4 separate regions of the Homo sapiens genome follow, and regions 1, 3 and 4 are each linked to region 2. Evidence: promoter capture Hi-C in 16 types of primary human blood cells and fetal thymus (Javierre and others, 2016). All regions are on one chromosome and are shown on one strand. Each heading gives the region's core, a stretch centred on a gene start or on the middle of the fragment in contact. The rest is flanking DNA. Distances are from core to core; before and after follow the strand shown.

The links. Contacts are between HindIII fragments. The CHiCAGO score rates a contact against its expected background, and 5 or more counts as called.
Region 1: a contact is called between the fragment with the promoter of TINF2 here and the fragment with the promoter of ZFHX2 in region 2, in 1 of 17 cell types (naive CD8 T cells). The highest score is 5.9, in naive CD8 T cells.
Region 3: a contact is called between a fragment that was not itself captured here and the fragment with the promoter of ZFHX2 in region 2, in 1 of 17 cell types (naive CD8 T cells). The highest score is 5.2, in naive CD8 T cells.
Region 4: a contact is called between the fragment with the promoter of REC8 here and the fragment with the promoter of ZFHX2 in region 2, in 2 of 17 cell types (naive CD4 T cells and naive CD8 T cells). The highest score is 5.2, in naive CD4 T cells.

What each region holds. Positions count from the first base shown.
Region 1 is chr14:24,241,373-24,247,713 of GRCh38, forward strand. It overlaps TINF2 (TERF1 interacting nuclear factor 2), which reads right to left and starts at 1,251. Exons shown (of 9, transcript NM_001099274.3): 1 at 769-1,251; 2 at 518-622; 3 at 303-404. The coding sequence starts at 960. RefSeq lists enhancers at 1-19, 680-899, 970-1,229, 1,400-1,699, 5,551-5,750 and a silencer at 1,891-2,185. The HindIII fragment of the contact is 13,864 bases long and covers 1-5,839 here.
Region 2 is chr14:23,550,229-23,556,142 of GRCh38, forward strand. ZFHX2 (zinc finger homeobox 2) reads right to left here and starts at 1,537. Exons shown (of 10, transcript NM_033400.3): 1 at 1,115-1,537. It also overlaps a transcript of THTPA not described here. RefSeq lists enhancers at 329-991, 1,841-1,890, 5,423-5,914 and a silencer at 1,471-1,710. The HindIII fragment of the contact is 16,619 bases long and covers 1-5,914 here.
Region 3 is chr14:24,086,796-24,093,450 of GRCh38, forward strand. The region is part of intron 1 of NRL (neural retina leucine zipper); the gene reads right to left. Among named protein-coding and RNA genes, the nearest start is that of PCK2, 4.2 kb to the right of the region's middle. RefSeq lists enhancers at 2,205-2,704, 3,620-3,669. The HindIII fragment of the contact is 5,113 bases long and covers 1-4,758 here.
Region 4 is chr14:24,167,154-24,173,505 of GRCh38, forward strand. REC8 (REC8 meiotic recombination protein) reads left to right here and starts at 4,927. Exons shown (of 19, transcript NM_001048205.2): 1 at 4,927-5,455; 2 at 5,560-5,628; 3 at 5,746-5,888; 4 at 5,973-6,045; 5 at 6,138-6,258. The coding sequence starts at 5,400. RefSeq lists enhancers at 4,339-4,839, 4,908-5,157 and a silencer at 4,688-4,737. The HindIII fragment of the contact is 5,740 bases long and covers 608-6,347 here.

The DNA.
Region 1 (6,341 bases), core at 1-2,500, 690 kb after region 2:
TAATCCTGGCCATTTGGGAGGCCGAGGTGGGCGGATCACTTGAGGTCAGGAGTTCGAGACCAGCCTGGCCAACATGGTGAAACCCCATCTCTACTAAAATACAAAAATTAGCTGGGCATTTGTAATCCCAGCTACTCGGGAGGCTGAGGCAGGAGAATCGCTTGAACCCGGGAGGCAGAGGTTGCAGTGAGCCGAGATTGTGCCACTGCACTCCAGCCTGGGCGACAGAGCAAGATTCCTCAAAAAAAAAAAAAAATGGGTTAGAGAAAATAGCCACATAATAGCCTTCAAACCAGTCTCACCTGCAGCTTCGAGGCCAAATCCACAGGAGCCTCTGACAGCTGCTTCACCTGCTGGTAAAAAGTTTCCTGTGCCTCCAAAATCTTCCTCAGATCCTGCTTTGTCTGTTGAGGATACAGAAGACAGAGAAGTTAGCACCAACATCCAGTAGACAGGAGGAGCAACTTTGCTGCACCAAGTGTAACTGGGGTCAGGGCTTGTTCCGGGGATTACTCACAGCCTTGGGATCCCGCACTATAGGTCCAGATTCTGGAAAGTGGTGATTCAGGGCTTTCAGGACTTGGGCCCAAGGCCGGCCCTGCAGGATCAGCTCCACCACCACCTGTACGGTACTGAATTCAGAATCCCCACTTCGGGGCAAGCTGACCTTTTCCAACTAGTCTCATCCCCAAGCTGTGGGCCCTTGTCAGGTGCTCGCATCCCGCCCCTTTCTTTCTTTCCCCTTCCAGGTCCTACTTGCTCCAATACCTTGGCCTTTAGGCCCATACAAAGGCGTTCGTGGTGCCGGTAGCGAACCAAGCCAGGGGCAACAGCGCGCAGAGATCGCAGAAACTCCAGTACTCGCGGAAAATGTTCCACGCAGCGTCCGCGCACAACCTGCCAGCTAGCCGCGGCGGCGAAGCGTAGAGCTGCGGGACCCGCCACCAGGGGCGTAGCCATGGTCGGCGGGCTCCGCCCGGAGGCGGTCCCTCCGGGTTCCTCACCCGGATGGGTGAGGCTTTCCGATCACTCCTAGGGGCGGGGCTTCTGGCAACTCCCTGTCGCTCCGGTCTGTCGGCTCTGGGTACCTCGCGATCTGACTCGGCTCCCTTCCATCGGCCCCCAGAATTCTGGGGGAGGGGGTCTTCTGGCTCGGGCTGGAGGAGCCTGAGTGGAGAAGCTGACCGTCTCCAGTGGCACTGGGTCGCTCAGCTTTAAACGTCGCCGCTGTCTCGAGCCCGAGGGTGCCTCACTTCCGGCTCCGCTACTAGCTTCCCTTGCCCCGGAAAAGGGCGGTAAGAGGGAGCCAATGGGCGGCCACAGAGGGAACCGTGACGGTGCGTCAGAAGGCCACGCCCCAGCGGAGCTGTAGCTGCCCGCTTCCTGCACTCTCTGCCGGCTGACATGAGTTGGCGGCTGAGGCTGTCGTGGCCGCTGAGGCTGTTGTGGCCGTTCGTCTGGGTCCTCCCAGCCTTGCTTTCTTCGCGGAGCCTGCGGAGAAGCCCCGTCACTCCCGTGAGGCTCGACTTCCTAGTCTGTAAAACGAGGATCATGCCACCGCCCTTTCCCACTGTCTTCACCCATCGAAATTTAGTTCTTTAAATTCCAGACCCGAGCCGGCGTCTACAAAGCCTTCCCCTCTGCGCGCGTCGCTTCCAGTAGGAATTCGACTGTTCCTTTTATAAAACAGAAGAGGGCGCCCGCCCTTAAAAAATAAAATACAGGCTGGGCGTGGTGGCTTGTGTCTAATCCCAGCGCTTTGAGAGGCCGAGGCAGGAGGGTCACTTGAGCCCAGGAGCTCCAGACAAGCCTGGGCGACATGGTGAAACCCCTTCTCTGCTAAAAGTACAAAAATTAGCTGGGCGTGGTGGCAGGCGCCTGTAATCCCAGCTACTCGGGAGGCCGAGGCAGGAGAATCGCTTGAACCCAGTAGACGGGAGGTGGCAGTGAGCCGCGATCTTGCCTCTGCATTCCAGCCTGGGCGACAGAGGGAGAATCTCTCTCAAAGAAAAAAAAAAAAAAAAAAAGAGGAAGAAGAAGAAATAGAATACAGGCTGGGGGCACGGTGACTCACACCTGTAATCCCAGCACTCTGAGAGGCCGAGAGGGGAGGATCGATCCGCTTGAGCCCAGGAGTTCCAGACCAGACTGGATCACATGGCGATAACCTGTCTCTACTGAAAATCAAAAAAACTAGCCGGGCGTAGTGGCACGCCTGTAGTCCCAGCTACTCAGGAGGCTGAGTTGGGAGGATTGTTTGAGCCAGGGAGGTTGAGGCTTCAGTGACTGCACTCCAGCCTGAGTGATAGAGTGAGACGGGGTCTCACACACACACACAAATTAGTTTCTTGTTTTAGGATTCTGTTGTGCACTGAACTTGTCAGCCCCCTAATGTAATTGACTGCTCTCCTTGACTGTCTCTTCCACAGGCTTCCTGGTGCCTCTCATTTCCATCAGCAAGCACAGAACCTAACACACAGCTTACACTCCTTAATTGTTGGCTGGATTAGTTGCCTGCCTTGACCACCTTACAAGGATTTAGTGAAACTGCTCCGTCTTTAGCCCATGTCTTCCATTCCCAGAGATAATGGTTCACACATCCTTGTCTCCGCCCCGGATCAGTCTCAGCTGATCCGCACATTCGACTGCCCAAGAAACACCCAGTCCCAAAGTACCCCAAATTGGATATGTGTGAAATTCTAGTTATCTTCCTTTTTCCCTTTATTTATTCCTTCTCTAATGTTCTTTCTTTCTTATGTAGATATGAACTTCTGTTGTTTTACTTTTTTTTTTTTTTGAGACGGAGTCTCGCTCTGTCGCCCAGGCTGAAGTGCAGTGGCGCGATCTCAGCTCACTGCAAGCTCCGCCTCCTGGGTTCACGCCATTCTCCTGCCTCAGCCTCCCGAGTAGCTGGGACTACAGGCGCCCACCACCGCGCCCGGCTTTTTTGTATTTTTAGTAGAGACGGGGTTTCACCGTGGTCTGGATCTCCTGACCTCGTGATCCGCTCGCCTCGGCCTCCCAAAGTGCTGGGATTACAAGGCGTGAGCCACCGCGCTCGGCTCTTTTTTTTTTTTTGAGGTGGGGAGACAGTCTCGCTCTGTTGCTCAGGGTGGAGTGCAGTGATCTTGGCTCACTGCAACCTCTGCCTCCTGGGCTTAAGTGATCCTCCTGCCTCAGCCTCCAAAGTAACTGGGGCTACAGGCATGCACCACCATGCCTGGCTCATTTTTTTCTATTTTTTGTAGAGACAAGTCTTTGTTGCCCAGGCTGGTCTCGAATTCCTGGACTCAAGCGATCTTCCCACCTCGGCTTCCGAAAGTGTTGGGATCGCAGGCGTGAGCCACTGCACGCAGTCCCTGGCTAATTTTTTAAAAAATCTTTTTTGGTGGGTGTGGTGGCTCATGCCTGTAATCCCAGAACTTTGGGAGGCTGAAGTGGGAGGATCACTTGAGGCCAGGAGTTTGAGACCAGCCTGGGCAATACAGTGAGACCCTGACTCTACAAAAAAAAAAAAAAAGAAAAATATGTTTTGTAGAGAAGGGGTGTCTCTCTGTGTTGCCCAGCCCAGTCTATCTTCATTTTTTGTTTTTTGTATTTATCCTGCTTGCTGCTCTCTGAGCTTCCTGGATCTGTGTTTTGTGTCTGTCATTAATTTGGGGGAAATTCTCAGTCATTATTGCCACATTTCTTATGTTCCTTTATTTTCTTCTCTGCCATTCTGATTATGTGTATGCTACAGCTTCTATAATTGTCCTACAATTCTTGGATATTCTGTTCTTTTTCATTTTTTTTTCTCATTGCATTTCAGCTTTGGAAATTTCTGTTGACATTTCTTCAAGCGCACCATGTTCTTTGGCCATGTCCAGTCTATTGATGAGCCCATCACAGACATTCATCATTTCTGTTACAGTGGGTTTTTTTTGTTTTTTGAGACAATGTCTTGCTTTGTTGCTCAGGCTGGAATGCAGTGGCTCAATATCAGCTCACTGCAACCTGTGTCTCCCAAGTTCAAGCGATTCTGGTGCCTCAGCCTCCCAAGTAGGTGGTACTACAGGTCGTACACCACCACGCCCGGCTAATTTTTGTTTTAGTAGAGATGGGGTTTTGCCATGTTGCCCAGGCTGGTCTCGAACTCCTGACCTCAAGCGATCCACCTGCCTTGGCCTCCCAAAGTGCTAGGATTACAGGCGTGAGCCACCGTGCCCAGCTGAATTACTCATTTTCAGCTGCTATCTCTGTGTAGCTGACTTCTTGGGAGTCCGAGGCAGGTGGATTGCTTGAGCCCAGGAGTTTGAGACCAACCTGGGCAAAATGGCGAGACCCCCGTCTCTACAAAAAAAATTGAAAAACTAGCCAGGCATAGATGTGCACACCTGTAGCCCCAGTTACTCAGGAGGCTGATGTGGAAAGATTGCCTGAGCCCAGGAGGTTGAGGTTGCAGTGAGCTGTAATCCAGCCTGGTTGCAATGAATTGCACTCCAGCCTGGGCAACAGAGTGAGAACAGAATGCAATGGATGTATTTCAAAGTGGCTACTTTCCTCCTCCCCTTTGCCAGAATCACGGGGCAGGGGGTTCTCCAGTTTTCACTGTGGGATCCTGGTAAAACTTGTGGCCATGTGCCATGGCTCACACCTAGGATTGCTTGAGGCTAGGAGTTCAAGACCAGTCTGGGCAACATAGTGAGACCATGTCTGTACAAAAACAAAACAAACAAACAAAAAAATCTAAAAGTTAACCAGGTGACTGGGCGCAGTAGCTCACACCTGTAATCCCAGCACTTCGGGAGGCTGAGGTGGGTGGATCACAAGGTCAAGAGATCAAGACCATCCTGGCCAACATGGTGAAACCCGTCTCTACTAAAAATACAAAAATTAGCTGGGCATGGTGGCGCGTGCCTGTAATCCCAGCTACTCAGGAGGCTGAGGCAGGAGAATCACTTGAACCTGAGAGGTGAGGTGGAGGTTGCAGTGAGCTGAGATCGCACCACTGCACTCCAGCCTGGTGACAGAGCGAGACTCCATCTCAAAAGAAAAAAAAAAAAAAGCCAGCCATGGTGGTACACACCTGCAGTCCTAGCTATTTGGGCTGAGGCAGGAGGATTGCTTGAGCCCAGGAGTTGGAGGCTGCAGTAAGCTGTGATTGCACCACTGCATTCCAGCCTGGGAAAAACAAAAACAAGAAACAAAAAATAAAAAACAAAAACCAAAAAAAGGGTAGGGTCCCCCCTAAGAATGGGACCCCTAGATGTTTTGTTTTTTTTTTTTTTTTTTGAGACAGTCTCACTGTCGCCCAGGCTGCAGTGCAGTGTCGTGATCTCGGCTTACTGCAGCCTCAACCTCCCCAGGCTCAGGTGATCCACCTCAGCCTCCCAAGTAGCTGGCATTACAGGCATGTGCCACCACACCCGGCTACTTTTTGTCTTTTTTGTAGAGATGGGGTTTTGCCATGGTGCCCAAGCTGGTCTCGAACCCTTGAGCTCAGTGATCTGCGTGCCTCAGCCTCACAAAGTGCTGGGATTACAGGCATGAGCCACCATGCCTGGCCACTATAGATTTTTTAGCTCTCAAATTTGTCCACCCTAAGCCTCCAGCTATGAGTCAATTACACTTTAAGTTTTCCTACCCTGGTACTGGCTCCCCAGAAGTTTCTGTTTCTGTTTCTGTTTCTGGGCTTCTGCTGTTAAGTTGTGATTCTCTGTATCTGCCTTTTTGTCTCTCCAGTTTTAGGGGCAGCAGTTTGCCCTGTGCCCTCAATTCTCTGATAGATCCAACAAGAGTTGCTGACTTTCAGTTTGTTCAGCATTTTTCTTTGTGAGGACAGGAGTGAGGACTCCTAAGCTTGTTACAGGCCAGACTAAAAACCAGAGGTCGTTATCTTCATTTTTTTTTTTTAGATGGAGTCTCACTCTGTCGCCCAGGCTGGAGTGCAACCTCCACCTCCCGGGTTCAAGCAATTCTCCTGTCTCAGCCTCTCGAGTAGCTGGGATTACAGGCATGTGCCACCATGCGTGGCTATTTTTTTTTTTTTTTTGTATTTTTAGTAGAGACTGGGTTTCACCATATTGGCCAGGCTGCTCTCGAACTCCTGACCTTGTGATCCACCTGCCTTGGCCTCCCAAAGTGCTGGGATTATAGGCGTGAACCACCGTGCCTGGTCTACCTTCCCTTTTATAATATGGTCTTCCTCCTGAGCTTCGAATTTCTGTGCATGGCACCTCTCTTCGTGGCACCCATGAGTCAGAAACTCAGGCCACCACCCTTATCTCTGCCCTCCCTCCTCTCCAAATTGAATCTGTTATCAAGTCTAATCAGTTCTATTTCCTATACAACGTTCAAAC
Region 2 (5,914 bases), core at 287-2,786:
GGAGGCTGTCCTGGCCATGCTGAAGGCACTAGAGGCTTTGGCGAAGACACATTTGCTCCATCATCCCACTCCTCCAGGCCCTGACTGTGACCACCACAATCATGACTGATAAGCAAATTCCAAAGTAGCCTGAAAAGGCCAGAGATATCCAGACAGACTCTGAAGGAGAGGGCATGGAATCCTAGACCGACAGAACAGGCAGCCAAGGCGTGACACATAGTGATAGAGACACACAAGGAGAGGATCACTCAGATGGGAAGGGTCACAAGTGGAGACAGTGACATACAGATCCAGAGATGGATGGGATGGAAGAGACAAGATGAAGAACAGCAAAACCAAAAGTCAGGGACACATGGACAGAGATCAGCGGGGCTACAGGCACAGCGAGGAAGCGTGGTCCTGTGCTTGAAAATGATAGGGCTGCTCAGAGGGGCAGACGAGCGGATGGGGGTGGTAGGATGGGCGTGCAGGACAGACACGCTTCACCTTGAATGGGCTTATGGCCTCCCCTCACCTACTCAACACTTTCAAAAAAAGGAATGGAAAGCCCAACTTCAGCCAAAAACGAACGAAGACTGAGAGTATCCACGTCCCCTCCCACTCCACGCCCCAGCGCGCTAGCCCATCCATCAGCCCGCCGGCCGCGGTTCTCCCATCCCACAGCCGGCGGGGGGCCGCCGAGACCCAGGACCCTCCAGGCTGACAGCTCTGAGCCCTCACACTCACCGGGCCTCCCCTTCCCCCCGGGATCCCCGCTCCCTGCCCAACTCGGCGCGGTCCGTCTAGGCTTTCCATACCCTTCGTCTGTCCGGCGGGCCTCTGCCTTTCCCGTTCCCGTTTCTCCCTCCACCCCCGCATCTCTCTTCCCCCATCCTCGCGCACGCCCTCTTCCTCCCACACCCCTGTCTGCTATCTCCCAGGGCTCTCGGTCTGTCTGTCCGTCCGTCCTTGTCCCCTCCCCCAGCCCCTTCCCGTCCCTCTCCGTCCCCTCCAGCGGCAGTCTCCAAGCGCCTCCTCTCCCGTCTCGAGCTTCCAAAGAGCAAGGAAGGGAAGAAGAGAGAGAGGGAGAGGAGAAAAAAACCAACCCAGCAGCATCGGAAATCGATGCACTTACACCTCAGCTGGAAGCAGGGACGGGAGTCGAACCGCGGCCACCGAGCAGCGCGAGGCGGGGAGGGGAGGGGGCGGCTCTTGGAAGGGACTTCTCCGATGTGTTGATTCCTCTTTTTTCCCCTCCTCCTCCCTCCCTCCAGCGCTCGCTCCGGGGCGTCAGGGACGGAGACGGAAAAAAATAAATAAATAAATTCACGGCGGTGAGGGAAGTGAAGGAAAATAATCAATGCTATTTGGCTGCGGCTGAAGTGTTTCCCCGGCTTCGTGAGGGGGTTTCCATTGATTCACCCTGGGCACTCGCTCGCTCCCTGCCTCCTCCTCCTCCTCCTCCTTCTCCTCCTCGCCCTCCTCCTCCTCCTCCTCCTCGCCCTCACTCCTCCGCCTCATTCACTGGCTGGAGTCTAGGCGTCCCACACAATGGAATAATCAATACCCAGGCGCCCGGGGCTGCCCCACTGAGCAGGTGCAGCGACCCGCCCGCCGCGGCGCATGCCGGGAGTTGTAGTCTGTTCGCGCCCGCCCGCCTGCCTCGCGGGACCCAGGGCCGGGGGCAGGCCGGCCAGCCCACCAGGTCGCCTCCAGGTTCAAGCCGGTGCCTGCAAAGAGGGCAGGCCCCTTTAAACTCTTTTCCGTCTCCTCTCCTCTTCATCCTGTGGCCTGCAGAAACCATACATGTGTTTTGTTGTTTTGTTTTAAATCAGCTTCAGAACAAGCCCTGAGCCGCCCAAGGCCTCCTTTTTTCATTCTCTTCTTCCTGCCTTATTATTCCGCCTCCCCCATCTCCCCCCGCGAAATTGGGTACTAGAACCTTCTCTACCGCAGCAATTACTCTTTAGTCTCTGAGAGCTTCTGCCTCCTCCACACGGTTACATAGTCCCCTGAGCTGGGTTGGGGGAGGTTCGGGCTCCTCCTCATCTTCAGTTTATCGCTTATTAAGTGCTCCTGAATTTTTTTTTTTTTTTTTTTTCTGGAGACGGAGTCTCACTCAGTCGCCCAGGTTGGAGTGCAGTGGTGCGATCTCGGCTCACTGCAACCTCCACCACCGGGTTCAAGCGATTCTCCTACCTCAGCCTCCTAAGTAGCTGGGATTACAGGCATGCATCAACACACCCAGCTAATTTTTGTATTTTTAGTAGAGACGGGGTTTCACCACGTTGGTCAAGCTGGTCTCGAACTCCTGACCTTGTGATCCGCCTGCCTCGGCCTCCCAAAGTGCTGGGATTACAGGTGTGAACCACCACCGCGCCCAGCCCGTTTTTTTGTTTGTTTGTTTTTTTCTTGAGACAGAGTCACTCTGTCGCCCAGGCTGCAGTGCAGTGGCATGATCCCGGCTCACTGCAACCTTCACCTCCCAGGTTCAAGTGATTCTCCTGCCTCAGCCTCCCAAGTAGCTGGGATTGTAGGTGCCCACCACCATGCCCTGCTAATTTTGTATTTTTAGTAGAGACGGGGGTTTCACCATCTTAGCCAGGCTGGTCTCGAACTCCTGACCTCAGGTGATCCACCGGCCTCAGCCTCCCAAAGTCCTGGGATTATAGGGGTGATCCACCTCACCCGGCCGCTCCTGTATTCTAATAATAATTTTTAAGATTTCTTGAATGCACAGGGACAGTTCCAAGCACTTTTACATACATTGTTTACTCCTCTCAATACCTCAAGCATGAGGTAGATGCTATTATAGTCTCATTTATTGAGGAAACTAAGGCACAAACAAGTGAATTAACAGGCCCAAGGTCCAATGGCCAATAAGTAAGTGACAGTGCCAGGACTCAAAAACCTCCATGGTCTGGCTCCAGGGCCCATACTAACTGCTATAGCCTACTTCTCTTAAACAACACAACAAAACCCTGAAGTTCACATGACAAAAAGGAGAGATAAATGAACATTTTGAGTTTATACTATGTGACAGTTTATGACTGAATCCTCACAGGTAACTGTGAGGCAGGCCACATTTTCTCAATGAAAAAGCAGAGGCTGGCCGGGCATGGTGGCTCACTCCTGTAATCCCAGCACTTTGGGAGGCTGAGGTGGGTAGATCACCTGAGGTCAGGAGTTCGAGACCAGCCTGACCAACATGGTGAAACCCTGTCTCTACTAAAAATACAAAATTAGCTGGGCGTGGTGGTGGGCACCTGTAATCCCAGCTACTCGGGAGGCTGAGGCAGAAGAATCGCTTGAACCCGGGGGGCAGAGGTTGCGGTGAGCCAAGATCACACCATTGCACTCCAGCCTGGGCAACAAGAGTGAAACTCCGTCTCAAAACCAAAAACAGGCCGGGCGTGGTGGCTCACACCTGTAATCCCAGCACTTTGGGAGGTGGAGGCGGGTGGATCACAAGATCAGGAGATCGAGACCATCCTGACTAACAGGGTAAAACCCCATCTCTACTAAAATTACAAAAAATTAGCCGGGCATGGTGGTGGGCACCTGTAGTCCCATCTACTTGGGAGGCTGAGGCAGGAGAATGGCATGAACCCTGGAGGCGGAGCTTGCAGTGAGCCGAGATGGCGCCACTACACTCCAGCCTGGGCGACAAAGCGAGACTCCGTCTCAAACAAACAAACAAACAAAAATTAGGAGGGTGGGGTGGCACGTGCCTGTAGTCCCAACTACTCAGGAGGCTGAGGCGGGAGAATCATTTGAACCCAGGAGGCAGAGGTTGCAGTGAGCTGAGACGCCAGAGTGAGACTCTGTCTCAAAAAAAAAAAAAAAAAAAAAAAAAAAGCAGATGCTTAGGAAAGTGGAGTAGCTTGCGGAAGGCCAAACATCTAGAAAGTGAAGCTGGGAGTCGACCTCAGGTCTGGCTCCGGAAACTGGTCTTTCTGTTCAAATAAGCTGCTGCTTTTGCCCCACTGGATTGGATCTTATAACATAAGGAAAAATTAGGTCTTCATCCCAGGTTAACAAAACCGGAAAGCAAAAGATGGATGAAAAGCAGGCTTTAGGAGCTGGGGTTTCTTCTCTCCCTAACCAACAGTGCTTAACATGGAGTGGGGACAGAGGTTGACCCAAGCTACTCCAAGTTCAAGATGCCATTTGTTTATTTATTTATGCACAGGGTCTTGCTCTGTTGCCGAGGCTGGAGTGCAGGCAGTAGCAGGATCGTAGCTCACTGCCCTTGACCTCCTGGGCTCAAGCTATCCCGCTGCCTCAACCTCCTGAGCAGCTGGGACCACAGGCATGCACTACCACACCCGGCTAATTAAAATTTTTTTTTTTTTTTTTTTGTAGAAACAGGGTCTTCCTATGTTGCCCAGGCTGGTCTCAAACTCCTGGCCTCAAATGATCCTCCTGCCTCGACCTCCCAAAGTGCTAGGATTACAAGTGTGAGTCAACACACCTGGCCAAAATGCCATGTCTTTAAACCAGTGTCCTTCTCCCTATAATACCTCTCACTGGTCATGTATTTCCAGAAACATACTGGTGAGAGGGCAGGTGTTGAGAACATGGCACTTCTCACCCATCATAGGAAGGAGTCCAGGAGTTAAGAGCCACGGTTCCTCAGGGAGCTTCCTCACATGGAAGGTCAGACATATAGTTAGAGTCTCCAGATAACCATAGTCCTCAGAGGGAGTAAGAAGGAATCATCTCTATTAATATTTTGTCTCCCAAAGCATTCAAAGGGCCAACCCCCATGTTTTCCTGAATTTTATTTTTTTGGGGACAGATGGAGTCTCGTTCTGTCGCCCAGGCTGGAGTGCAGTGGCGCCATCTCAGCTCACTGCAACCTCTGCCTCCCAGGTTCAAGCAATTCTCATGCCTCAGCCTCTGGAGTAGCTGGGAACACAAGCACGCGCCACCATGCCCGGCTCATTTTTGCATTTTTAGTAGAGACGGCGGGCCGGGGGGGTTTCTCCATGTTGGCCAGGCTGGTCTCGAACTCCTGACCTCAGGTGATTCACCTGCCTCGGCTTCCCAAAGTGCTGGGATTGCAGGTGTGAGCAACCGCACCGGCCTTTCTGTATTCTAAATGAACATAAGTAGTTCTACACCTGACAAAAACTGCTTAGGGACCGCTGGAAACTCTGACAAACTCCTCAGTCTAGCACTCAAGGCTTTTCCCTCAACTGCATTTCTAGCCTCGTCTTCTCCTTACGTACCACCCAGGTGCTCTCCAGTTTCTGGGCCTTTGCTTAGGCTATTCCTGTCTCCATCTAGGTCTCCAACTGTTGAAATACCATCATATCTTTAGTTCCTGGCCAAAATACCACTTTATTCTCTGACAGAAAGTTTCTCACCCACTCTTACCCTCAACGTTCATGCCAGGAGGTATTAGATCCCCTCTAAAACTCCAGAGTAGCTAAACTGGACTTTATTACGCGCTGCCCCCGCCCCCTTCCCTCCCCCCACCCCAACCCCCCTCGCCACCATTGCCACTGGCCTGCGCTTAGCTGGCTGCTATAGCAGATATCTGTTGGACGGTGTGAATGGCTTGTATTCCAGGCCCATCTGCCTGCGTTGGGGGTGCGGCGGGGGGTGTTGGAGACGGGACTGGGGCTTGAGCTCCTTGCACCCGACTCTCCCCGCCGCCTTGTAGCCCCAGTTCAGCTTTAGGTAGAGTACCGCAGGCACCAAGTGCAGCTTTCCTGTCGCCATAGCGACGGGCGGGGCGAGATGGCAAAGTCTCCCTTTGGAACTACATCTCCCATCATGCATCCGCGCCTCGGGGTGCCTGGCTCAGCCTCAGGCATGAGACCTGTACCAGCCCCCGGGAGCCGTGCGGGGCCAACAATGAGGAGCAGAATGCAAGGGGCGGCCTCGCTCCCCTGGCCACCGCGGGGGTCGCGGCCTCCCATTACAT
Region 3 (6,655 bases), core at 952-3,451, 540 kb after region 2:
GACTAAACAAGCTCAGGCGAGTTGAGCTGCTTGGGGCTCAGACCAGGCACCACTAAACCAGGGAAAGGAGCTGGGGGAGTGAGGGTTGGGCCCAGTCTGGGCCAGAGGAAAGGACCAAGGGCACAGAGAGGAGAGTCTGTGGCAGTCAGTGGGGACCCAGAAAGCAGAGCCCATCTCCCATATCCACTGGAGACTGAGAAATGAATACTGAGACTAATGGGCTCAAGGACATCTAGGGATGAAAAAGATGAAGCCAGTGTGACTCCAGGAATAATAGAACAGAGGAAGGAGACTAAGGAGGCAGTAGGTGTAGATGTGAGATAGAGGACAGGACAAGTCAGGGTCTCCATGGGGATTTGGATTAAAGGAGACAGAAAGATGTAGGCACATGGACGAGATGGATAAAGAAAGGAAGTCTTCCAGGAGAGGACCAAGAAGGGAGTAGGGGACAACAAGGACTAGAACAGTAAGAGTGGTAGAAGGAAGGGACAGGACATAAGATTGGGGACCAAGACCTAGACACCAATACAAAGAAATAGACACATAGGCCACAGAGGAAGAGCAGTGGCCAAAGGACAGAAAGGTAGCAAGATATGGATGGAGTGATATTGGACCATGGGGAAAGAGGGGCAGGCAGGCAAAGGGCCTGCAGGAGTGGGGTAGAAAATGAAGAGGAAGGAGAGAAAATGAGACAGTCAGCATTCCAGGATGCTACCTCCTCTCCTCTGTCCTGCACTCTCATTTTTGGAACCCTGAAAGACTGGTTCTCATTCCTACTTCTGGCTCATGGTATCTAGATCTTCAGTAATAGATCCAAATCCTCAACCTCTTCTTGGTGTACCTCCTACATTCTTTTGAAAAATGCATATTAAACACCTATTCTGCACCACATCCTGAGTAAGGCATTAGCGACCCCTCAGTAACTTACACTAATACCAGCCCTGACTTCAAGAAACTTACAGACTGATGAAACAGAGAAACATCAAATTATTGCCCTTTGGCTGGGTGCAGAGGCTCATGCCTGTAATCCTAGCACTTTGGAAGGCCAAGATGGGTGGATCGCTTGAGCCCAGAAGTTCGACACCAGCCTGGGCAACATGGCAAAACCCTGTCTCTACTAAAAATACAAAAACTGAGGTGGGAGGATCAGGAGCCTGGGGAGGATGAGGGTGCAGTGGGCCATGATGGTGCCACTGCACTCTAGCTTTGGAGACAGAAAGAAACCCTGTCTCAAAAAAAAAATAATAAATAAATTATTGTCCTTAGGCCCAGGCAGGAGTGGCCCCTGCCCTGGGCCCTGTGCTTTAGAAGGCTCCACTCTGGCCTCCTCTGGCTATGTCCCACCACATGGGTGAGGAGTCCAACTATCCTCTGCCCATACCTTAATCCTCTCAGGACCACACTCCAGATAGCTAAGCATTCCCTGTCCAAAAGGCCCAAGCCCACTCCTAGGGCCCACGTGAACCTCTTCCCTGGGTTTGCCCTCCCACGGCTGGGCCACATGACTGGTTCACACATTCTGAGGTCAAAGGGTAGACAAGGGGTAGCTGCTTGCAGGAGACTGTGGACAGACTTGGGATGGCCTGATGGGAGGTCCACATGGTTCCACACAAGGCCCCTTGCAGTCCAAGATGGTGTCAGGGGTAGGAGGCAAAGTGGGCCCAGCTGAGGGCCAGTGGCCAAAACTACATCCCCCTACACCATCACATTCTGGTGCAGAACCCTGAGGATTCCAAATAAAATACAAATCTGAACCTGGCCTTCCAGGCCATTGTGAAGTATGTATTTGTCAATATATTTGTCAAGGTAGAAGAACAGAATATATTTTGTGTAACAGTTTGTTAGCCTGAATTATACTTTTTTTTTTTTTTTTTTGAGATAGCTCTGTCGCCCTGGCTGGAGTGCAGTGGTGTGATCTCGGCTTACTGCAACCTCTGTCTCCTGGGTTCAAGTGATTCTCCTGGCTCAGCCTATCAAGTAGCAGACATGCACCACCATGCCTGGCTAATTTTTTTTTTTTTTTTTTTTTTCACAGAGTCTTGCTCTGTCCCCCAGGCTGGAGGGCAGTGGCGCGATCTTGGCTGACGGCAAGCTCCGCCTCCCAGGTTCATGCCATTCTCCTGCCTCAGACTCCGGCTGGAACTACAGGCACCCGCCACCATGCCTGGCTAATTTTTTTTTTGTATTTTTAGTAGAGATGGGGTTTCACTGGGTTAGCCAAGATGGTCTCGATCTCCTGACCTCGTGATCCGCCCGCCTCGGCCTCCCAAAGTGCTGGGATTACAGGCGTGAGCCACTGCGCCTGGCCTAATTTTTGTATTTTTAGTAGAGACAGGGTTTCATGTTGGCCAGGCTGGTCTTGAACTCCTGACCTCAAATGATCCACCCGCCTCAGCCTCCCAAAGCGCTGGGGTTATAGGCATGAGCCACTGCGCCGACCCTGAGTTATACATTTTAATCTTTTTTTTTTGAGACAGGGTCTCGCTCTGTTACCCAGGCTGGAGTGCAGTGGTGCAATCATAGCTCACTGCAGCCTTGAACTCCTGGGCTCAAGCTATCTCCCACTTTAGTCTCCCAAGCAGTTGGGACTACAGGTGCACACCACCATGCCTGGCTACTTTTTTATTTTTTGTAGAGAAGAAGTCTCACTATGTTGTTCAGGCTGGTCTTAAACTCCTGGGCTCAAGTGATCCTCCAGCCTCTGCCTCCCAAAGTGCTGGGATTACAAGGCATGAGCCACCACACCCAGCCCATTTTAAATATTTAAACACAAGGTTTGAGGGCCTCTATTTGTACTCCTGCCGCAGGTCCTACATATGTTAGAGATGTGTCTACATAAAAACAAACCATTTAAACAGAGATGAATGTGCTAAGAAGAAGAAGGGCAGGGTGCTATGAAATTTTCTTCCACGAAGACATACTCTAATACAAAGCCAGAGGGGATGCATCACAGGGACAGGTTGCCTAAGAAAGTCATGCTAAACCAAGACTGGTCAGGTGAATAAGAAGTGACCCTGCCTGGAGGTGTGGACAGGGTGGGAATTCCAGGCGGCAGAAACAACATATGCAAAGGTTGTGAGGCAGGAAAGATGTAGACATGTTCACAAAACTGAGAAAAGATCCACGTAGCCAGAGAGTAGAAAGCCTGGAAGGTGGGAAGAACAGTGATAGCTGAGGCTGGAGAAGTCAGCAGGGGCCAGATCATGCAGAGCCTGGGAGGTCACATTAAGGGTTTGGGCTTTATTCTAAGAGCAGGGAGAAGCTACTGAAGGGTTTTCAGTAGAGACATGATGTGATCAGATTTGTGTTCGGAAGGATCACGTATGTCAGCACTTTGTGTTTGTGGAGGAAGGCAACAATGAAATAAGAGTCAGATTAGAGGACTAATGCCGTAACCAAGTTGAGCCTGAGGAATATTTGCAACTGGAAGCACACTCTGAGACAGAAACTTGTGTGCAGGTGGTTTACTCGGGGGGGGGGGGGGGGCACGGGGGGGGACTTTCAAAGAAAGAGTAGCAGGACCCAAGAGAGGGAACAGTTGAATGGCACTGCAGTTGTAATCAGCTGAGCCTAAAGAGCTCTGGGGCTGGGATGGACCTTCAGAGTTGTCCCAAACTGAGACAAAGGGCTAGGCCTCTGTACTTTATAACAACCATTCATTGGATACATACTGCCCCCAGGAAGCGGGCATTGCATTTGGTGAGACAGCTCCCTTTGGCCACAGATAGTGCTCAAGGAAGTACTCAGCTGTGAGCTATCAGCAGCCAACACTCAGCAGCTGGAACAATGAGCATCATGATCCTGAAGCGGGAATCTGGGCTACACACCACAGCATCACTACTCGGGCTGTGAGACTTCAGGGATGAACCCAGAGGCCCCAGAGAGGACAATGCAGATCACACTCTGCCCCCTGGTGGTACTCCTTGGACATAGGGCCAGCTGGTGGGCCAGGCTCTCCCGGCAGGGAACTAAAGAAAAGTGTGTGGCAGATAAGGGGAAATGAGCAGTGCAAGGAAATCTGCACGTGAGCCCCTTGCTCCATCTGCCTAAAGCTAGAGAAGAAAGTAATGGTGGGGAAGAAGAATTCAGAAACGTGGCACTCATTCATTCTTTTATTCAACCAACTTTTATTAAGTGCCTGTTATAGGCCAGGTACTGCTGGGAACTAGGAGAAAAACAAGACTGAAATCATCACTCTAGTGAGGATTACAGAGATATAAAAGTAACTACAGTATAGTAAAGTACAAAAATATAGGCATATACATGGGATAGAAGCAACACAGATGAAATAGATGTTCATTCTAAGGGACGAACAGAAAAGGCCTGTGTGTGTGTGTGTGTGTGTGTGTGTGTGTGTGTGTGTGTGTGTGTTAGAGACAGAGTCTCACTGTGTTGCCCAGGCTGGAGTGCAGTGGTGCGATCTCGGCTCACTGCAACCTCCGCCTCCCGGGTTCAAGCGATTCTCCTGCCTCAGCCTCCTGAGTAGCTGGGACTACCGGCGTGCGCCACCACACCAAGCTAATTTTTGTATTTTTAGTAGAGACGGGGTTTCACCATGTTGGCCAGGATGGTGTGTGTTTAATTTGAGTGCAGATGCCCAGAAAAAGTTCACAGAAGTGCTCTGGAAACTTCAGAGTTCAGTACGTAGGAGAAAAGGAGGCAAGTGGGGATGTGGGGGTGACAACATTAGATAAATAGGAGTCAGATTATGAAGGACATAAGATATCATGTGATGGAAAGAGCCTGGAAGAGATTTTAAGCTTAAGAGTGATATGATCTAATTTTTAATGGTAAATCAAGGGGACAGTATAGGATTTATAGGGAGAGGGGGACTTGGTAATTAGAGTCAGAAAGATATGGATTCAGATTCCATTTCTCCTGCTAACCATTTGTGTGACTTTGAGCAAATGACTCTTTTTTTTTTCAATATACACAAAGCAATTTTATTTGTATGTACTTGTGGTAAACAATTAGAACATTTCATTCATAATAGGATAAAAGTATAAAATATTCATGAATAATTTTTTTTCAGAACAGGAATGGAAGTTTATTAAAAAGCTTTAGAGCAGGAATGAAAGAAAGGAAAGTACACTTGGAAGAGGCCCAAGCAGGCATCTTGGAGGTCAAGTGCGGCATTTGACCTTTGATTTAGGGTGTTATATGTTGGCATACTTCTGGGGTCCTGCCTCCCTTTTTCCTTGATTCTTCCCTTAGGGTGACCGAGCAAATGACTCTTTAAGCCCGTGTCCACATATGTAAAATATAGTTGTGAAACAGAATGAGATTATGCATGCAGAGTTGCTGACACAGAGCCTGGCACCTACTGTCCATAGCATAAACATTATTCTTCTCTCTTAACTTTCCAAGTGGATTTGCATGCACAGTGTGGGGAGTGGCTTGGTAGGGAGAGGGGTTGGTGTTTGGAGAGGCAGGAGTCCAAGAAGTGCCTTAGAAGCTATCACCTGAAGCCAGGTGAGAGATAAGCCCTGAACTAAGGCCCTGGCCATGGGGATAGTTGCAGACTTGAGGGCTAATTGAGAAGTACAATTCCAAAGGTCCTGGCATCTGATTAGCTATGCAGGATAAGAATAGTCTAGACTGATTCCCTTTGGGGCAACTGGCCAGATGATGGTGCCATTTGCTGAGGTAGGAAACCATGAGAGCAGGTGCAGGATTATGGAGAAGATGATGACCTTCAGGTCAACCATGCTGCCACCAGTGTGCACACCTTTAGGCCCAAAGGTTGGCCAAGAGGTATGTGTTTGCAGCTGGGTAAGTGTGGACAGAGTTTGGATCTATGAACTGGGGGGAAAGAGATCCAAATACATATACCTGAGGTTGAGTGTAGGCTAGAGCCTGAGGGGGAAGAGACGGGGACCAGTAGCAAGCCCGTGGCTGGAGACCAGCTCTCCTTATCCCACTATGTTCCAGCATAGAACTCCAAGAAATCTGAGAATCAAGACTGTTTCTGTTGCAAGTGGCAGAACTCCAATTAAAATTAGCTTGAGCAAGAGAAGAAATGCATCAATTCCTGTAACTGAAATCAGGAATCCATTGCTCGCCATCTCCCTGCTCTGCTTCCTCTAGGCTGGCTTCTGTCTCAGCCAGGTTCCTGCTTTGCAGTGCCAAGCTAACACTCAGCAGCTCCAGGCTTATATTCTACCAGCTCAGCAACTCAGCAGAAAGAGAGCTAACTTCCAAAGTTTTAGAAAAAGTCCCAGAGAGGGATCTCATGCCCATCCTTGAACATCCTTGATTGCTGTGGCCAGAGTGAGGAACACAAAAGTTGGCTAAGCTGCAAGCCTACCCCCAAGAGGGGTGACATCAGACCCACATGACAATACAGACTGAGGAGATGGTTCCCCAAAAGAAAATCAGGGTGCTATTACCAGAAAAGGCGAGTGGATGCTGAGCAGACACCCATCATAGATATGCTGAGTTTGAGGTGCTATATAGCATTGTGGGTGATATCCAGTGGTCTCAGGTTGGAGAGAGATGTCCCAATGGAGGTATAGCTTGAGAAATCACCTGAGGACTTTATGATGGTAGTTGGGTGGGCAGATGAGTTTCCTCATTGGATTGTGGAGAGAAAGAATGACCAGGCCGGGCGTGGTGGCTCACGCCTGTAAATTCCAGCACTTTGGGAGGCCAAGGC
Region 4 (6,352 bases), core at 3,677-6,176, 620 kb after region 2:
GGGAGGCCAAGGTGGGTGGATCACTTGAGATCAGGAGTTCGAGACCAGCCTGGCCAACACGGTGAAACAGCGTCTCTTCTAAAAATACAAAAATTAGCCAGGCCTGGTGGCGGGCACCTGTAATCTCAGCTACTTGGGAGGCTGAGGCAGGAGAATCGCTTGAACCCGGGAGGCGGAGGTTGCAGTGAGCCAAGATCGTGCTATTGTACTCCAGCCTGGGCAACAAGAGCGAGACTCTGTCTCAAGATTAAAAAAGAAAAAAAAAAAAAGCACTCCGGCCTAGACTGCCATGTCATGCTGTTCATGAGACTTGAGGGCTCCAAATTGGCTGACACTCTTCTTTCCCCCATGTTCATTTTACTACGAAACTGGAAGTTTTTCCTTCACCACAAGGCCACTTGTCACCTACTTTTTTGTACACTCACTTCCAGCAAACTAGTTCCAACCCAGGCCACAGCCTTCAGCTTCCTTCTTCCTGCATATGACACCAGCTTAGCTTTCCAGACTTCCTTCTGTCATTTCACCCTTCAGCCCTCAATGGTTCACACACATGATCAAATCTGGATGCCTAAGTCTTCCTAGGACCTTCTTGCTGCCTCATTTGACAAGCTTCAGTGCTGCCTTTGAGCCTCCCTGCCTCCATGGACCTCCCTTCTTCCCTTCAGTCTTGTCCATCATCCCACTGGGAAGCCAAGCACCTAGACATTCTCTGCACTAGCAGTGAAGAAATGAGGTACTGAATGCAGAGGTGTACAAACCCTGTTGTGCCCTCAATGTGATGCAATGTGATGAAATCCTTCCTGGACCTTCTTTGTACAAGGTCTAAATTATCTCCTTGACTTCCATTTTATTTTAATTATTTTGATTAAAAACAAAAACTTGGCTGGGCATTGTGGCTCACACCTGGAATCCCAGTAATTTGAGAGGCCGAGGTGGGTGGATCACCTGACGTCAGGAGTTCGAGACCAGCCTGGCCAACATGGTGAAACCCCGTCTCTACTAAAAATGCAAAAAATTAGCCAGGCGTGTTGGTGGACACCTGTAATCCCAGCTACTTGGGAGCCTGAGGCAGGAGAATCGCTTAAACCCAGGAGGCGGAGGTTGCAGTGAGCCGAGATTGCACCACTGCACTCGAGCCTGGGCAAAAAGAGCAAAACTCCATCTCAAAAAAAAAAAATTTTTTTTTTCGGCTGGGCGTGGTGGTTTATGTCTGTAATCCTGGCACTTTGGGAGATCGAAGTGAGAAGACTGCCTTAGCCCAGGAGTTTGAGACTAGCCTGGGTGACATAGTGAAACCCTACTTCTACAAAAAATTCTTTTTTTTTTTTTTGAGACAGAGTCTCACTCTGTTGCCCAGGCTGGAGTGCAGTAGTGCAATCTTGGCTCACTGCAACCTCCACCTCCTGGGTTCAAGTGATCCTCCTGCCTCAGCCTTCTGAGTATCTGGGATTACAGGTGCGCACCGCTATGCCAGGCTAATTTTTGTATTTTTAGTAGAGACAGGGTTTCACCATGTTGGCTAGGCTGGTCTCGAACTCCTGACTTCAGGTGATCTGCCCACCTCAGCTTCCCAAAGTGCTGGGATTACAGGCGTGAGCCACTGCACCTGGCTCCCAAAAATTCTTAAAAATTAGCCAGGTGAGGCCAGGCATGGTGGCTCACACCTGTAATCCTTGCACTTTGGAAGGCCCAGGTGGGTGGATCACTTGAGGTCAGAAGTTCGAGACCAGCCTGACCAACATGGTGAAACCCCATCTCTACTAAAAATATAAAAAAAATCAGCTGGGCATGGTGGCACATGCCTATAATCCCAGCTACTTGGGAGGCTGAGGCAGGAGAATCACTTGAACCCAGGAGGCAGAGGTTGCAGTGAGCCAAGATCGTGCCATTGCATTCCAAGCCTGGGCATCAAGAGCGAAACTCCATCTCAAAAAAAAAAAGTGGGGGAAAAAAAAAAGCCAGGTGTGGTGGTGTGTGCCTATAGTCCCAACTACTTGACCTCCTAAAGTGCTGGGATTACAGGTGTGAGCTACTATACCTGGCCTCCTTCCGTTTTCTATCATACCCCACATCCAATTCATCAGCAAATCCTGTCGCTCGCTATTCCTTCAATATGTATCCAGGGTCTGACCACTTCTCTCTGTTCCCATCAGCAACACTTTGGAACAAACTACCACCATCTCTCATGTCTCCTCCTCTGCTTCCTTCACATCTGTTTCCACACGTGTCTACCTTAAGCTATTCTCAACACAGTAGAGATTCTTTTCACATGTAATTCTGATCATGTCACTCCTCTGCTCAGAACCTTCCAGTGGGTCCCAAATCACCCAGGGTAAAAGCCCAAATCCCCATAAGGACCTCTGAGGTCCTGTGATGCGACCCTACCCTCCTCTCTCTCTCTCTCTCGCCCCTTGCCATTCTTCCCCTGTCACTTTGCTCCAGGCTCCTTGAACCCACCAAACACATTTCTACCTCAGGGTCTTTGCATTTGCTGGTTCTTTTGTCTAAATTACTCTTCCTTCAGGTAGGCACATGACTTACCCACATTCTTCAAATTTTATCTCTTAAGAGAGGGGGCAAGGCTTCCCTGAGTACCCTCCCTAAATAGCAGCCGTCATTATTCTATCCTCCTATGCTGCCTCATTTTCTTCATAGCACTTACGGCCACTTCATGTATTTCTTTTTTTCTTTCTTTCTTTTTTTTTTTTTTTTTGACAGAATCGCCCATGCTGGAGCACAGCAGTGCAATCATGGCTCACTGCAGCCTCGACCTTCGGCTCAATCGATCCTCCTGTCTCAGCCTTCTGAGTAGCTGTGACTATAGGCATGTAATTTGAGAGGCCGAGGCGGGTGTCACCTGAGGTCAGGAGTTTGAGACCAGCCTGGCCAACATGGTTGAAACCCTGTCTCTACTAAAAATACAAAAAAATTAGCCAGGCATAGTGGCACATGCCTGTAGTCCCAGCTACTCAGGAGGCTTAGGTAGGAGAATTGCTTGAACCCAGGAGGCGGAGGTTGCACTGAGCCAAGATGGTCCATTGCACTCCAGCCTGGGCGACAAGCAAAATTCCATCTCAGAAAAAAAAAAAAAAAAAAAAAAAAAAAACTCTCAAATTGAAGGGGACTGTAAGAAGATAGGGTCAGCTCAGCTGCAGTAAGATATAAGTCTCAGGAAGAAGCATGCTCTGGAGTCAAGGCAGAGAAGGACATTCTAGGCCAAAGAAATGGCTGTGCAAAGGTAGGAGGCATAGGGACAAGGGTTATTATTACAACTGTACCTCTTAAATTTACACAATAATTGTTGAGAATATGGCTTTTCCAGGCTAGGAAGTTGTGCTGCATCCAAAAATGCTAAAGTCTATTTCAGCCGGGAGAACACTGACAGCTGGGAAAGGACCACACGTGGCGTGCCCATAACCTAAGTTGTTCAGATTTAGGAAGTGACCCCAGTAAGTCCTTTCGGAGTTTCGTGTAAGATTGACTTCTTCAGCTGGGGGCAGTGGCTCACGCCTGTAATCCCAGCACTTTGGGAGGCCAAGGCGGGCGGATCACCTGAGGTCAGGAGTTCGAGACCAGCCTGGCCAACATGGTGAAACCCCTGTCTCTACTAAAAAATACAAAATTTAGCCAGGTGTGGTGGTGGGCGCCTGTAATCCCAGCTACTCGGGAGCCTGAGGCAGGAGAATCCCCTGCACCGGGGAGGCGGAGGCTGCAATGAGCTGAGACTGCGCCACTGCACTCCAGCCTGGGTGACAGAGTGAAACTCCATCTCAAAAAAAAAAGAAACCAGCCTGGCCAACATAGTGAAATCCCGTCTCTTCTAAAAATGCAAAAATTAGTTGGGTGTGATGGAGGGCGCCTGTAATCCCAGCTACTCAGGAGGCCAAGACACGAGAATCGCTTGAACCTGAGGGGATGGGGGGCAGAGGATGCAGTGAGCCGAGATTGCCGAGATAGCGCCACTGCATTCCAGCCTGGGCAACAGTGAGAGCCTCCATCTCAAAAAAAAAAAAAAAAAATGGACTTCTTCCTCATTGACCTGTGGTGGCTCCAAGGCCATCAAAAAAAAAAAAAATGGACTTCTTCCTCATTGACCTGTGGTGGCTCCAAGGCCATCATCTCACAGCCTTTTTTTTTTTTTTTTTTTTTGAGACGGAGTCTTGCTCCCTTGCCCAGGTTGGAGTGGAGCTGCATGATCTCGGCTCACTGCAACCTCCGCCTCCCAGGTTCAAGCATTCTCCTGCCTCAGCCTCCTGAGTAGCTGGGATTACAGGCGCGTGCCACCACGCCCAGCTAACTTTTGCATTTTTAATAGAGACGGGGTTTCACCATATTGGTCAGGCTGGACTCGAACTCCTAACCTCATGATCCGCCCGCCTCGGCCTCCCAAAGTGCTAGGATTACAGGCGTGAGCCACTGCGCCCGGCCTCATCTCACATCTTTCTTCCTCTGCAGCACACGACACGCCCTAGTTGGAAACAAAGTCGGAGTTTGTGGATTGGGGGAAGGGCGGGGTCTAACCTCAGGTCAGGCGCCGTGCAAGGTACATCTTGGCACCCGGAAGAGGCCCAGTACAGTTGCCCCCGAGGTGACCCGACCTCCCCTACCAATTGAGGCGCCCTTGTTGCCAGGCTTGCGGCGGGGGAGCGGCGGGGGAGCGACGGGGATGCGCTCATTGGTCAAGGAAGGGGCGCCTGTTACTAGAGGCGAGAACCGGAGCCCATTGGTCGGAACACCTCACAATGGACCCCAGCGGCGCGCAAAATCCTTATGATTGGTTTGCTGGCTGCCTCGGGAGACCCTGTTGCCAGGATACTTGGCGTTCCCGACCCGACCCCCGTTCCCCATTGGCTGTCAGGGCAAAAGCCGCCATCTAATGAGGAGCGAGGTGCGGTGCCCCGAAGCGCTCGCTTCCCGCGGTGCGATCTAGTCCTGCAGTAGGCGGCCCGGGGCCACACCGCGGCCGCCCAAGCCAGTGCAAGGCCCAGGGGCCTGACATCGCTCCCAGCGCTCGAGGACCGAGGCCTGCTGTGGAGGACACCGTGCTCCCTCGGGACCTGCTCTGGATTCCGGCCCGGACGTCCCCTTGGAGCTCTGCATCTCCAACCTGGAACCCAACCCAGAAGTCTCAAGTTTGACGCATCACGTGGCGTGCGGATCCACTGAGGGTCCACAGAGAGGGGCGCCCATCTCCTGCGTCTCAGTTATCCTGGTAATTGTGTATCTGCCCATTGTTCGTTGCCTCATTAACTTGGCTTTCTAGGTGCACCCACCTTGCCACCAGAGAAGTCCAAATCCTGACTTCTCTCCAAGGTGTTGGGAATTCTGTGCCCTAAAGAATTCCGACTCAGATCCGAACGGGGATCTGGTGGAATCGAGGGTGAAAGACCAGAGGGACAATGTTCTACTATCCCAACGTGCTTCAGCGCCACACCGGCTGCTTTGCCACCATCTGGTAAGGGCGGGGCCCGTTGGCGCGCGATGGCGGACGCTGCCCGGGATCCCAGCCTGACAGCTCCCCCTCCATCCCCATTCTCCCACCTTCCCCACCCACTTCAGGCTGGCGGCGACTCGCGGCAGCCGGTTGGTGAAGCGCGAATACCTGAGGGTGAATGTGGTGAAAACCTGGTAAGGCCCAGAAAAGGGAAGGAGGGCCTGGTGCGGGGGGTGAGTTAGGGGATGGGGTGGCCAAGACTGTGGGCCCACTCCTGGACGCAGCGGTAATCAGGGCGCATTGTTCCCCAGCGAGGAAATCCTCAATTACGTGCTGGTACGAGTGCAACCCCCGCAGCCCGGCCTGCCGCGGCCCCGCTTCTCCCTCTATCTCTCAGCCCAACTTCAGATCGGTGTGATCCGCGTCTATTCTCAACAATGCCAGTACCTCGTGGGTAAGGCTGGGAACCCTCAAAGGTGGGGCGGGCTGAGCAGCTGTCTGCTAAGCTGGCTGTCTACCTCGTCCTCCCTGCCCACAGAGGACATCCAGCACATCTTGGAGCGCCTCCACCGTGCCCAGCTGCAGATCCGAATAGATATGGAGACTGAGCTGTGAGTGTGCCCTGGGCCTTTGATGGAACACCTGCTAGCTTGGCCTCAGCCTGGCTCAGCCTCAGTCCTTCACGGCCTACATTCTCTCCCAGACCCAGCCTGCTGCTTCCTAACCACCTGGCCATGATGGAGACCCTAGAAGATGCTCCAGATCCCTTTTTTGGGATGATGTCTGTGGATCCCAGACTTCCTAGTCCTTTCGATATCCCTCAGGTAGGGCTCATTCCCCAAGACTCGTGAATTGGCAATGCAGAAGGGGAGTGCTGTCCCTGTGTCACTCTGACATTGGGGTTGGGGAAGGAAGCTT